Regions from separate parts of the Homo sapiens genome. Here region 1 is linked to region 2. The links are contacts of gene promoters, found by promoter capture Hi-C in blood cells and fetal thymus (Javierre and others, 2016). All regions are on one chromosome and are shown on one strand. The core of a region is centred on a gene start or on the middle of the fragment in contact, and the rest is flanking DNA. Distances in the headings are between cores, read along the strand shown. Region 1 holds the start of NUP107 (nucleoporin 107). Region 2 holds the start of XPOT (exportin for tRNA).

The links. Contacts are between HindIII fragments. The CHiCAGO score rates a contact against its expected background, and 5 or more counts as called.
Region 1: a contact is called between a fragment that was not itself captured here and the fragment with the promoter of XPOT in region 2, in 1 of 17 cell types (neutrophils). The highest score is 6.2, in neutrophils.

The regions. Positions count from the first base shown.
Region 1 is chr12:68,684,207-68,691,066 of GRCh38, forward strand. It overlaps NUP107 (nucleoporin 107), which reads left to right and starts at 2,772. Exons shown (of 28, transcript NM_020401.4): 1 at 2,772-2,867; 2 at 4,756-4,847; 3 at 5,327-5,413; 4 at 6,425-6,540. The coding sequence starts at 2,860. It overlaps LOC100507250 (a long non-coding RNA gene), which reads right to left and starts at 2,653. Exons shown (of 3, transcript NR_038930.1): 1 at 2,531-2,653; 2 at 1,657-1,811. It also overlaps the pseudogene RPL7P42. The HindIII fragment of the contact is 1,707 bases long and covers 4,735-6,441 here.
Region 2 is chr12:64,399,813-64,407,011 of GRCh38, forward strand. It overlaps XPOT (exportin for tRNA), which reads left to right and starts at 4,580. Exons shown (of 25, transcript NM_007235.6): 1 at 4,580-4,992. RefSeq lists enhancers at 4,155-4,204, 5,302-6,178 and silencers at 4,595-4,754, 5,085-5,194. The HindIII fragment of the contact is 10,073 bases long and covers 1-6,256 here.

The DNA of each region.
Region 1 (6,860 bases), core at 4,338-6,837, 4.3 Mb after region 2:
CATTGCAGCCTCGGCCTGCCAGGATCAAGTGATCCTCCTGCCTCAGCCTCCCAAGTAGCTGGGACCACAGGCACGTGTCACCACACGTGGCTAATTTTTAAAACTTATGTTAGAGACAGGGACTCCCTATGACATCTTGTTTAATCCTCACAACACCCCCTGACAAAGGTATTGTTTTCTCCACTCTACAGATGAGGAATCTGCAGGTGCAGGGGGGTTGAACCTAGATGGAGCCCAAAGCAATGTTTTTATCAAAATGCCATGTTGTCTGAGAGGGGATAATAAGGTATGAAGAGGCCTTCCGGGGAACTATGCTTCCCAGAATTACAGCAGAACATAAATGCCTAAGGCAAAACTTCCACTGATTTCCTCTTTCCCAGCTGAAACCATGGAGGGTATTGAAGACAAGAAAAAGAAGATTCCTGCTGTGCCAGAAACCCTTTAAAAATGTGAGGGAAGGCTGGGCACTGTGGTTCATGCCTGTAATCCCAGCACTTTGGGAGGCCGAGGCGGGTGGATCATGAGGTCAGGAGTTCGAGACCAGCCTGGCCAGCATGGTGAAACCCCGCCTCTACTAAAAATACAAAAATTAGCTGGGCATGGTGGTGCACGCCTGTAATCCCAGCTACTTGGGAGGCTGATGTACAAGAATCGCTTGAACCGGGGAGGCAGAGGTTTCAGTGAGCCAAGATTGCATCACTGCACTCCAGCCTGGGCAAAAGGGCAAGACTCTGTCTCAAAAAATAAAAATAAAACACATGAAGGAATTTCACAGAGCTAAAGGTCAAGTGCCTGAGAAAGAAGTTTGCCCATAAAATGCTTTGAAAAGAAAGGAGAAGGCCAGGCGCAGTGGCTCACGCCTGTAATCCCAGCACTTTGGGAGGCTGAGGCAGGTGAATCACCTGAGGTCAGGAGTTCAAGACCAGCCTGGACAACATGGTGAAACCCCATCTCTACCAAAAACGCAAAAATTAGCCGGGTGTGGTGGCAGACACCTGTAATCCCAGCTACTCAGGAGGCTGAGGCAGGAGAATCGCTTGAACCCAGGAGGCAGAGGTTGCAGTGAGCCGAGATGGCACCACTGCACTCCAGCCTGGGCAATGGAATGAGACTCCATCTCGAAAAAAAAGAAAAAGAAAAGCAAGGAGAAAGCTACATCTATGAAAAAGCTAGGCACTGTCAGATGTGGTGGCTAACCCCTGTAATCCCAGCACTTTGGGAGACCCAGGTAAGAGGATGGCTTGAGCCCAAGAGTTTGAGACCAGCCTGGGCAACAACATAAGACCCCATTTCTCCAAAATATTTTTAAAAAACGGGGGAGGAGAGGAGGTCAGGCATGGTGGTGCGTGCCTGTGGTCCCAGCAACCTCAGGTACTAGGGAGGCTGAGGTAGGAGGATTGCTGGAGCCCAGGAGGTCAAGGCTGCAGTGAGCCGTGACTGTGCCACTGCACGTAAGCCGGGACAATAGGACAAGATCCTGTCTCAAAAAAAAAAAAAACAAAGAAAGAAGGAAGGAAGGAAACATAATTTAAAAAATCAAGTCCAAAAAAAAGCAAGCAAGAAGTAAAAAAAAAAAGCTCAGCACTGTCACAAGAAATATATGGCAAGAAAAGCTGGCAATTTCTATATACCTGTGAAACCCAAATTGTCACTTGCCTTAAGGATCAAATGTATCAATGGTGTGAGCCCAAAACTCTGTTGCAACTTCTTCACTTTCCCCAGATCTTCAATGGCAGCTTTGTTAAACTCAACAAGGCTTCAGTTAACACGCTGAGGATTGTGGAACCATATATCACATGGAGTACCTGAACCTGAAATCAGTAAATGAACTGATCTACAAATTGGTTATGGCAAAATCAATAAACAAATTACCTTAACAGATAACGCTTTGATTGCTAGATTTCCTGATAAATATGGCATCATCTGACTGGAGAATCTGATTCATGAGATCTATGCTGTTGAAAAACTCAAGTTCCTGTGATCCTTCAAATTATCTTCTCCACGAGGGAGAATGAAGGACTACCTATTTTGTATTAATAAAAGGTATAAATGCCAGCAACAGAAAAGACTATATCAACAGGCTTATTAAACGGATAAACTGAAGCATCTAACATTATTTTTGTAATCTGGTCAGTTAATAGCCAGTCACTACTTTCAAACTGGAAAAAACAAAAACCAAAACAAAAATGTGACTGACTCCTTCAAGACCAAAATACACCACTTTTTGCCTAGACGGCACTTTGAAATAGAGGGCAATACCATCATATTTCACGCTTGCCTTTCTACTTTTTAATACAGGTGAACTTTTTCTCCTTAATAGGAAAGAACACCAAGTAAAGAACAAATAGCAGTTATGGAAAATAGTTGCAAAAACTGCAGGGGGCTACAGAACAAAGGACTGAGTGTAGGCAGAGAGATAGAGATCCCCGAGGTGTGGGGCAGAGCCCACGCATCTGAATTCCAAGAACAGGCGCTTTCTGACAGAGAATACCAGGAAATGACTTCACATTTTTCCAGACTATCAACATACTTCATTCTTCCCAGTAGGAGAACCCAGGGCCTGTTCCACGCCCACAGACTTTGGTCAGGCAAAGCGGCCGCAGGGCGTCTGGGCTAAACGCAACCAGGAACACATTGGCAAACTTTTGCGCCTGCGCCCACCGGGCGTGCACCTGTAGGCTGAAGTCGCGCATGCGCTAGATGGGAACGTTGTTTCTTCTCCCCTACCCCTTTTCTGTGGGTCTGTTTTAGGGACAGACTGCTTCCGGGTCGAAGGGCTTGCTTCCGGAGAGCGGGAAGGCTAAAACGCGGTAGCTAAACTGCAGCCAACTTTGGTTGTGTGTGGAAAAGGCTTTAGCCATGGACAGGTCAGTACTGATGGTGGCAGCTGAGCCCGAAGTCTTGCCCGTCTCGCCTGTTGGCGAAACGAAATAGGTGAAACTAGACTCCCAGAAGAAGCCAAGGAGGTCCCGGGTGCTTCCCCTAAGGCTCCTTCCCCATGCCGGGAAATTTGGCCACAAATGGGGAAAAAGCCGCTTGGCGTGCGTCGGGGTGGGGTACAGATCATAATAGTCCCTTACTTTCCCACTACGTTCTGCGATCTATTCGGCGCTTTGGGGCAGCAACACTGTTCGCTCCTGGGGTGGGCGGGGTAGGTAGCGCGGCGTTCGAAATGCTAAGTGACCAGCCTGAGATCACAAAGCCAGTCAGTGAAGATACTGGGATCTCAGCCCAGACTTTCTGATTACAAGTGCCAGCATCAGATTCTGAGTTCCCTCTATGATCTGGGTACTGTGCTAGCCGCCTACAACAAAGATCAGTTATTCAAGATCCTTCCCCTCGGGGAATTAGTTGTGTAATGGAGACAACCAAGCAGTGTAAAGTGGTAAGTGTTTGGGGGCGATTAAGTCTCCTTGTCACTGTAACTATCAGGAAGACCCCTCAAAGAAGGTAACTTTCTAGCTGGTCTTTGAATAATAAGAGTACATTATTCGTACTCCAAACATTGAGTACCTACTATGTGACTGCCATTGTTCTAAAGGCGTTGAATATATATTATTAGCTTATTTAATCTTCAGAACAAGAAAAATCCTATGAGATGGGTACTGTTATCCTTTTTTCATATATAACACTGAGACTAAAAGAGGTTAAGGAACTTGCTGAAAGTTCGGAAGCTAATAAATACAAGAACCAAATTGCCAACCTGCATCTGTGTGTCTCCAGCCTACCTGAGGCTCTTTGAGGAGTAAGTAGTTGTTGACCAGGTGCTCAAGGGGGCAAATGTAGGTCTTTGTAAAAGAAGCATATTCAGAGGTGCTAGGATATGAAAAAAAAGTACGTGTAGCTCAGTGGTCACATGCAGTATACGTTTAAAGTGATGTTTGTGGCTGAATAGAAGACTGAACCCCTAAACTGGGGTCACATTGTAAATATCATTTTAGGAAATTTTTACTTCTATAGACCAGAGAGCTATCTGAAGGTTTTTTTTTTTGTTTTTAATTTTAATTGTTAAACGTTTAAAATTGTTTCTATGTGGTTGTTTCCCATACTTTCCTGCTGAAGGAATATCTGAAGGTTTTAAGTGGAGGAAAAGCATATTAGATTCTTGTCTTAAACACAGGCCTTTTAGTCCGCACAATTTAGTTTCTAGACCTTTGAGTGAAACTGACAGGGAGTGTTGTGATGGGACAGGAGACCTCCTGGGTTGAAATAACTTGAAGGGTCATTTTGCTCCAATTTACCACAATTCTTTTACTTACCCTTCTATCTCACAAGCTCTGTTTGTTGTTGTTGTTGCAAGCTCTGTTTGTTGTTGTTGTTGTTTGTTTGTTTTTTAATAGTACCCATGGTTTAAAGCATTTTGGAGACTGCAGAAAATCTTTTAAGAGAGAATTCCTGCAGTTAGGTAACTCCTCAATCCAACAAGGGAAATAAGATTCACTTTCATGAAGCAATTATCTAAAACAGTGTTATAATATAGATTCCAAGTGTTGAAATAATTCCTTAGGAGAAAATAACATAGTGAGTACTAGAAAGTCAGAGAAGTCTTTGTGCAGGTAAGATTTGAGTAAGGCTTTGAAGAATAAGCAGGATTTGGAGCCAGGAGTGCGTTCTCAACAAAAGATCTAAGACTTGGCTACTAGAATGACTATACCTTAACTTACTCAGGGTCCTTTACTCCAACTGTGATGATAAAATTCTTTATAAATGCTATATTCTCGTTTCACTTATATAAGCTTGATTATACTACTTTAGGAGTGGCTTTGGAGAGATATCATCCCCTGTAATCCGGGAGGCAGAGGTGACACGGACTGCACGGAAACAGAGTGCTCAGAAAAGAGTTTTACGTATCCTTTGCGATTTAAGCATCATTATAAAAATTGTAACATGTTTGGAATCAGTGTTGTAGAATTTTCTTTTTATAAGAGTATTAAATGGTAGCTATAATAAAATCCTGTAGAAACTTTTTTTCACTCCACAGAGCTGTCATTTGGTAAATATAATGCAAAAATTTAATGAGATCGTATTTCCCTAAAAATAAAGATATTTCTTACTGCTGACAGCTTCTGCTGAGATTAGATTTCTTTTTATTATTTGAAAACTGACTAAAAACATTTAGTTCAGTGTGTAGTTATCTAAGACTGACATCTGATCATTTAAATGGCAGAAGCAATGAATTATTTACCCTTTGCATTGAAAAATGGTAGCCCTAAAATACTTGTTCTTGAAAAATGTATTCACATAATTTGTATAGTAAAAAGATGGTTAATTCTCATTTTAGTGATCTCTTTTCTACATGGAAAACTTTTCTTAACTCGTTGTACAGTTCAGGCATCTCAAGATGAAAATTTTGGTAATACTACACCAAGAAACCAGGTTATCCCTCGAACTCCTAGCTCATTTCGACAGCCTTGTAAGATTTTTTGCTTTTAAAGCATTTAATAATAACGGTAATTATAATAGCAACTAACATTTATTGTAACATAATTAGTATAGTATTTGGTTACGATATCAATAAGCACTAATAATAATGATTGCAGTTATTATTCGTTTGAACTCTTGCCATGTACAAGGTACTGTACTTTCCATAAACACACGGTAACTATGACATGGGTATTGTTGGCCCTGTTTTACCAAAACTGAAAGTGAGACTTAGAGAAGTTAACTAATATATACAATAAGTATGTAAATAGGCTGGATGCAGTGGCCCATGCCTATAATCTCAACACTTTGGGAGGCCAAGGTGGGTGGATCACTTAAGGCCAGGAGTTCAAGACTAGCTTGGCCAACATGGCAAAACCCTATCTCTACTAAAAATACAAAAATTAGCTGGCGTGGTGGCACATGCCTGTAATCCCAGCTACTCCGGAGGGTGAGGCAGGAGAATTGCTTGAACCCGGAAGGCAGAGGTTGCAGTGAGCTGAGATTGTGCCACTGTACTCCAGCTGGGGCGACAGAGCAAAAAAAAAAAAAATCCCAGTTCCATTATTTACATACTCTTTTTTTGTTCTGAGACAGAAAAAAAAGAGTATGTAAATAATGGAACTGGGATTCAAACAATGATCTGTTTACTCCAAAGTTTATGCCCACTACACTGCACTGCCTCAGTATGCCTTATAAAATTAAAATATGAAGAATCCGTTGACTGATTAGTGTCTTTAACTGCTCAGTTATTCTATAATGAAAGCATCTGTAATTGCAGTAAAATGTTTCCTGTTAGGCTCAGTAGTACCTACAGCTCAAATTTAGAAAAATAAGTTAAATCCTTGTATCATGGAAATGTTAACATTTAAAGTATTTATTTGGTTAGAGTCTAAATAATGGAAAACTGAAAAATTTATTCTTCATTGTTTGTTTGCTTACTTTGTTTTGATAATGAATGCTCACGCACTTTAGGTTCTTTCTACCAACCTTTTGTTTATAGTTACCCCAACAAGCCGAAGCTTACTAAGGCAGCCAGATATTTCCTGCATTCTTGGAACAGGAGGGAAGTCGCCCCGACTTACGCAGTCTTCAGGGTTCTTTGGAAATCTCTCCATGGTATGTAGAAAAATAGGGCTAAGAACTCCTTTTGGGTCGAGTGTGGTGGCTCACATCTGTAATCTCAGCACTCCCTGAACTCCTGACCTCAAGTGATTCTCCCGCCTTGGCCTCCCAGAAGTCAGGAGTTTGAGACTAGCCTGCTTAGCATGATAAAACCCTGTCTCTACTAACAATAAAAAAATTAGCTGGGAGTGGTGGCTTATGCCTGTAATCCTAGCTGCTCGGGAGGCTGAGGTGTGAGAATTGCTTGAACCCAGGAGGCAGAGGTTGCAGTGACCTGTGATTGCAAAAGAAAAAAAAAAGAGAAAAAAGAACTT
Region 2 (7,199 bases), core at 3,330-5,829:
GCATTTTGCTTCTAAACTCCAAGCTGTCCTTGTTCATTCCTGGGCATAGGCTGAACTAACTTTGGAAGGATCTTAGTTTAGAGTTTATAGTTAAAACAAAGACAATAACAGCCTCTTCCCAAAACACCCTTCTTACCTGGGGACTAGACTACCTTTGTAGGACTAACAAATTAGCCATAAGATTAGAAATTATTGTTTAGAAATCATGCAGCTGGAGGCTACAAGATTCTGATCCTCCCCGAATTGTTCCTGGGGATAACACCACTATTGTAAAACCTACGATCAGTGCTTGAGATATTTTGCAAACCCTGTACTTGATAGATCAGCTGGCACCACTCAGATCAAAAAACTGGGTCATCTGATCTTGTGGCCGCCACCCAGGAACTGACTCAGTGCGCAGGAGGACAGCTTCAACTCTCTCTGATTTCATCTCTGATCCAACCAATCAGCACTCTCAATTCACTGACCTTCCCTCATCCATCAAATCAGCCTTAAACACTCTGATCCCTGAATGCTCAGGGAGACTGATTTGAATAATAATAAAACTCAGTCTCCCATACAGGGAGCTCTATGTGAATTACTCTTTCTCTATTGAGATTCCCCTATCTTGATAAATTGGGTCTGTCTAGGCAGCAGGGAACCTATTGGGCAGTTACAAAAGGAGCCTTTTGGGCAGTTACAAAATGATAGTGTTATTTGTCAACATGTTGATGACTAACATTTTCATCTGAGATGAGAAACTGCCCATCCCTTCATGGACGGAGGAGGCAGAATATGGAATGGTCAAATGTAATACCTCTCTTAGGTCCTCTTCAGTTGGATTCTACCAAGTGCTTCTTTATTTGTTCTTTTTGTTGTTGTTGTTGTTGTGGTTGTTGAGATGAAGTCTCACTCTGTTGCCCAAGCTGGAGTGCAGTGGTGCGATCTCAGCTCACTGCAACTCCACCTCCCGGTTCAAGCAATTCTCCTGCCTCAGCCTCCCGAGTAGCTGGGACTACAGGCATGTGCCACCACGTCCTGCTAATTTTTGTATTTTTAGTAGAGGCAGGGTTTCACTATGTTGGCCAAGCTGGTCTTGAACTCCTGACCTCCTGAACCACCCATCTCGGCCTCCCAAGGTGCTGGGATTACAGGCATGCATCACCACACCCGGCTTTTTTTTTTTGAGATGGAGTCTCACTGTGTTGCCCAAGCTGGAGTGCAGTGGCGCAATCTCGGCTCACTGCAACCTCCCAGGTTCATGCAATTCTCCTGCCTCAGCTTCCCAAGTAACTGGGACTACAGGCATGTGCCACCATGCCCGGCTAATTTTTTTTTTGTATTTTTAGTAGAGACGTGATTTTACTGTGTTGGCCAGGCTGGTCTCGATCTCTTGACCTTGTGATCCATCTGCCTCAGCCTCCCAAAGTGCCGGGATTACAGGCATGAGCCACCGCGCCTAGCCTCTTTATTTGTTCTGAAATAATATGAGTTTACAAAGTTGAAAGAGATTTCTACAATTCTAGGTATTTCAACTACCATAAACGAAAGAGCTAATGTTAGTAGATAAACTGTAGATAAACTGAAGATAGGCTTTGTATAACATTCAACATAAGAAGTAGCCATAAAATGAATTTACAAACAAAACAGCAAGTAAAGACATCTATAATACGATAGATTGAATTGCCATATTCTTTAGGATGAGGCCTGGAATATGCTGAACATACAGATTGCAGAGGCACTCAGCCCAAGATTAGTATTGGGCCTTCATACTCCACAGTTGATCATCACAGCTAATATAAGAATTCATGCAATGATTCAGTTATTGAGTTGAAACTAGCAGGCTGGCACTGTGCTAGACTCGAAAGATATACTGAAATAGGTAGGGCAGAAATCCTAGCCTGAGATTTTTTTTCTTAGAAATAACATTCATAGCAACTTGTGAAAAAAGCCATGCCTGTGTCTCCAGCAGCAGTGAAACAAGATGGTGGATCCCCTCACCATTAACCCCCATATGGAAAGGGTATATGTAATTCAGAAGGGATGTGTATTATGTCTGTTCTCACACTGCTATAAAGGAATGCCTGGGACTGGGTAATTTATAAAGGAAAGAGATTTAATTGACTCACAGTACCTCAGGGCTGAGGAGGCCTCAGGAAACTTACAATCATGGCAGAAGGGGAAGCAAACACATCATTCTTCACATGGTGGCAGGGGAGAGAAGAATGAGTGCCCAGCAAAGGGGGAAGCCCCTTATAAAACCATCAGATCTCATGAAAACTCACTATTACGAGAACAGGGTGGGGGAAACCAACCCCATGATTCAATTATCTCCACCTGATCCCGCCCATGACATGAGGGGATTATGGGAATTACAATTCAAGATGAGATTTGGGTGGAGACACAGCCAAACCACGTCAGGATGTGTAGACAACTGAAGTACAATAACATCAAGGCTGTTTTGACGTAAGGGCAGAATTTACAGTATGTGCTCTCACACAACTTGAAATCTTAAAGGCCTTCCGGGAACAGGGTTAATCAGAAACCAACATGGCAGATTAGTACCAAAGATGGAGTTACTTTAGCTTCCAGATTCCACCCATCAATCCAGCTCTTACAGTTTCACTCGCCCTCCTATTTGGAGATGGTCCCTGAGCTTTTAGGGAGGGTGGTTTCATATGATATAGCTTTAGCAGCAGCGCCCTAGCAGTGGAAAACAGATTGGGCCCAGAGAGATTCCAAATGAGGGAGATTCACAGGCTTTGTTGAATTATCTCTAGTCTTGAGAATACCATGACTTTGGTTTTCTCAGAAGTAAAACAAGAGATACTTCTTGTTTATAATTAATTTGAATAATTAATAATTTGAATAGTAGAAACATAATGCATGCAAGGATTACAATCAAAAGAAAATTTGTATGCCAGAACAACAAAGAACCTATTTCGTTGGGAAGCCAACTGAGAGCAGCGTGAAGAAAATTAAGGCCTGACACAGGGACTCACACTCGTAATTCCAACACTTTGGGAAGCTGAGGTGGGAGGTTCATTTGAGCCTGGGAGTTAGAGATCAGCCTGGGCAACAGAGCAAGTCCCCATCTCTACAAAAACAAACAAAAATAGCCAGGTATGATGGTATGCACCCGTAGTCCCAGCTCCTTGGGCGGCTGAGGCAGGAGGATTGCTTGAGCCCAGGAGGTCAAGGCTGCAGTGAGCTATGACCACTCTACTCCAGACTGGGTAACAGAGCGAGACCCTTTCTCTAAAAACAAGAAAAAATTAAAACCCAGTTCTCCTTTAGCGACATCTTGTAGCCACTAGCCTGACATTTTAAACACATAAATTAGAAACATGATGCAAGAGTGATTCAAGGTATTTTATATAGGAAATGCCTGGTGTAGTGTCTTGGACAGCTAAATAAAGGTAGCTGTTAAAACATTAGTTTTATTCTATGCTCTTACCATTCCTCCCTCTCCAAGTTTTGTTTGTAGTCTGTGGCAGCAACCTAGTCTGTATTTAGTACACATTGAATAATCAACAATGAAATGTAAATATTGAGCACATTGTGTGTCAAACACATGTATTAACTCAAACCTCACAGAAACCCTTTGAGGTCGGTACTATTAACAATCCCCATTTTACATACGAGTAAACTGAAGCATGGATAGACTAAAGTAAAGTGCCTGAGGTCAACTAGTGAGGAGGCGGAGTGGCAGTCAAGTCGAGGCAGCCTAAGCCTACACTGCCTCTATGTTGCATTAATAAATTAATAAATCTGTGACCAAATAAATGAAGTGACATTTAGTAGCATCGAAAGATCCCGTGAGTAGGACTTCCTAAGAATGCTCTCCTTCTTTTCATGGACAAAATTTTAGTCTGTTTAAAATAAATTTTGGACCGGACACCGTGGCTCACGCCTGTAATCCCAGTACTTTGGGAGGCCGAGGCAGGTGATCACTTGAGGTCAGGAGTTCGAGATCAGCCTGTCCAACATGGTGCAACCCTGTCTCTACGAAAAATACAAAAATTAGCTGGGTATGGTGGCGCGCGCCTGTCATCCCAGCTACTCAGGAGGCTGATGCAGGAGAACTGCTTGAACCCCGGAGGCGGAGGTTGCAGTGAGCCAAGATCTCGCCATTGCACCCCATCCTGGGCGACAGAGCGAGACTCCGTCTCAAAGAATAAATAAATAAATTAATTAATTAATTTTGAAAACCTGTCAGCACTCATCAGAGCTTTACACTGCTGTACTCGGGACACTTGGGGCCGTAGACAAGCAATTAAATTGACTCACACGTGGTTAGAACCACGTCATCCTGATTCGTGAATCCGTACTCTCAACTACTAGAAGCCCTTTGTGGAATGCTCGGGGCGAACCTGACGCTTGAGCTCTGACACCACGCAGACACAGCCGGGGATTTAGGAGCTGGGTAGGGACTCCTGGGCCGGATGCCTCATCCCGGCATGCACCTCAAGCCCCGGTGACCACGCCTTCCGGCGAGCGCCAGGGAGCGCGTGTGCGCCTCGCCGCCCGGAAGCGCCGGCCGCTCCCTGCATGCTGGGAGTTGTAGGCCTCCGGCGTCAGCCCGCGGGCTGCCGCCCGCACTCTCCAAGAGACTGCTGGCGCCGGCGCCCGCCCGCGCGGCACCGACGCGGGGAGCGCGCTTCGCGCTGACTCAGCGGCGGCGGCGGCTGCGGCGGCGGCGGCGGCGTTAGCCGGCCCTCGCGCTCTTTCCCTTCCTGGGGCGCCGACCCCGCCCGCTTGCTTGCTTGCTTGCTTGCCTGCCTGCCTGCCTGCCCGGCGCCACGCAAGAGAAGGTGCCAGGGGACGCAGAGCGACTAGAGGCGCGCGGTCCCGGCCAGCACCGTCTCTGGCGTTGTAGCTGCGGCCGTGGCGGAGGACTACGGCGACAAGGACGAGGGCCGCTCTCCCAGCTCTCTGCGTGCCGCGCCGCTCCGCTCCGCTGGCTGACCATCTGGAGTGCAGGCTGGGAGGCGGGATGGAGTGATAGGGAAGGTGACTCGGGGCTCGGGGGCAGCGGGACCGGGACCAGGTTTGGTCCGCGTGAGGCTTCGAGGAAGTTGGCCGGGGCGGACCGGCCCGGGGGAGTCCCGACGCCAGGGAGGGTGCAGGCTTGGGACCCTCTATGGCGGTGCACCCCCTGGCTGGGCGGACCGGGTGGGGGTGGGTACGAGCCGGGGCCGCCGCCGAGGAGCGCGTCCCGAGTGCGTGGCCGGCGGTTGCTTGGTGTTTCATCACCCGAATTGCCACGAGGCTTCCTTTAGGGGAGGGATCGGGGGAGGGATGGGAGCAAGGCTAGCAGAGGAGGGTCGGCATCGCCTGTGGTTCCGAAGCCCGTTAGTCATCGTTGTAGCGTTATCAACTGTGGAGACCTCAAACTTGATTCTTCCCCCACCCCTGGACAAAAAGGAAAAGTGTTATTTCTGTGCAGTAATTGGCCAGCACGGACGCTCCATTTCTTCTCAAACCTTCCTCACCATCCTGCAGGACTAGAGAAGCATGAGGTTTCCCTGTAACCAGAAAAACGAGTACTTTTTGAAAGTGCTAATTAGTTGTGGCGGGCGGGGGTTGGGGGAGAGTTACGTTTTATTAAACCGACTTGTCAGCGTGGTGTTAAAAGGCTGGAAAGATTCAGTCGTAGTATTTGAAACAGTCTTCAGTAGGTGTAGAGGAATTTTTCCAAATTGTTTGATTCTTAATGGCTATCCAGGAAAAGTTAAGGCTTAATATTTTAAGTATGTTGCTTGCCTTCCCCCAAGAACCTTTGCAAGATGCATAATTGTTTACCGTATTGAAACATTTTTTGGGGTTTTGTTGTTGTTGTTTTGAGACGGAGTCTCGCTCGGTCGCCCAGGCTGCAGTGCAGTGGTGCCATCTCGGCTCACTGCAACCTCTGCCTCCCAGGTTCAAGTGATTCTGCAGCCTCAGCCTCCCGAGTAGCTCTATTACAGGTGCGCCCCGCCACACCTGGCTACTTTTTGTATTTTTCGTAGAGATGGAGTTTCACCGTGTTAGCCAGGATGGTCTCGATCTCTTGACCTCGCGATCCGCCCGCCTCAGCCTCCCAAAGTGCTGGGATTACAGGCGTGAGCCACCGCGCCCGGCCTTCCACTGCATATTGATCGTCCAAATGCCTTCTATGTGGGGGATTCTTTCTGTAGTGACAACTGTTAACTAGTTTGTTTCCTTGGGTTTATTGGCTATGTTTTCCTTAGGGCCACTTCATTTTTCTCCCGATAGCTTCAGAGTGACTTGACCAAGCTTAAGCACTTTTTCTTTTTTTTGACACAGTGTCTCACTCTGTCGCCCAGGCGGGAGTGCAATGACACGATCTCCGCTCACTGCAACCTCCCCCTCCCGGGTTCATGCGAGTCTTCTGCCTCAGCCTCCTGGGTAGCTGGGATTACAGGCGCAGGCCACCATGCCCAGCTAATTTTTGTATTTTTAGTAGAGACGGCGTTTCACCGTGTTGGTCAGGCTGGTCTCGAACTCCTGACCTCGTGATCCGCCCACCTCGGCCTCCCAAAATGCTGGGATTACAGGCGTGAGCCACCGTGCCCAGCCAGCAATTTTTTTTAGATGGAGTTTCGCTCTCGTTGACCAGGCTGGAGTGCGGTGGCGCCATCTCAGCTCACTGCAACCTCCGCCTCCCGGGTTCAAGCGATTCTCCTGCCTCAGCCTCCCGAATAGCTGGGATTGCAGGCATGTGCCACCACACCCGGCTAATTTTTGTATTTTTAGTAGAGACGGGGTTTCTCCATGTTGGTCAGGCTGGTCTCGAACTCCCGACCTCAGTTGATCTGCGCCCCCCTCCCCTCGGCCTTCCTTAGTGCTGGGATTATAGGCGTGAGCCACCCTGCCTGGCCAGCATTTTTTTAAAAAGCCATAGCAAATTCAAGGAAGCTTTTATTGGACTTCTCAATCAGGGATTCTTAGAAACTCCGAAATCGTTTTTTCTCTCTGTGGGCATTTTTCAGGGGAATGGACATCAGATTTTCTTAACATTTAGGGGGCGAAGGGAACCAGTGCCTTTCTTTGTGTTTTTCTGTCTTTTAAAAATGCTGATCTGGTATAAGAATGCCCCAAGTCGTTTCCATTCCACATGTTCCTACCTCTGACTATAAACAACGTATTGAGGGCTCACTATGTGCCAGCCATGCTCTGCATACCTTATCTCTTTGAAGCCTTTACAACTTTATGAG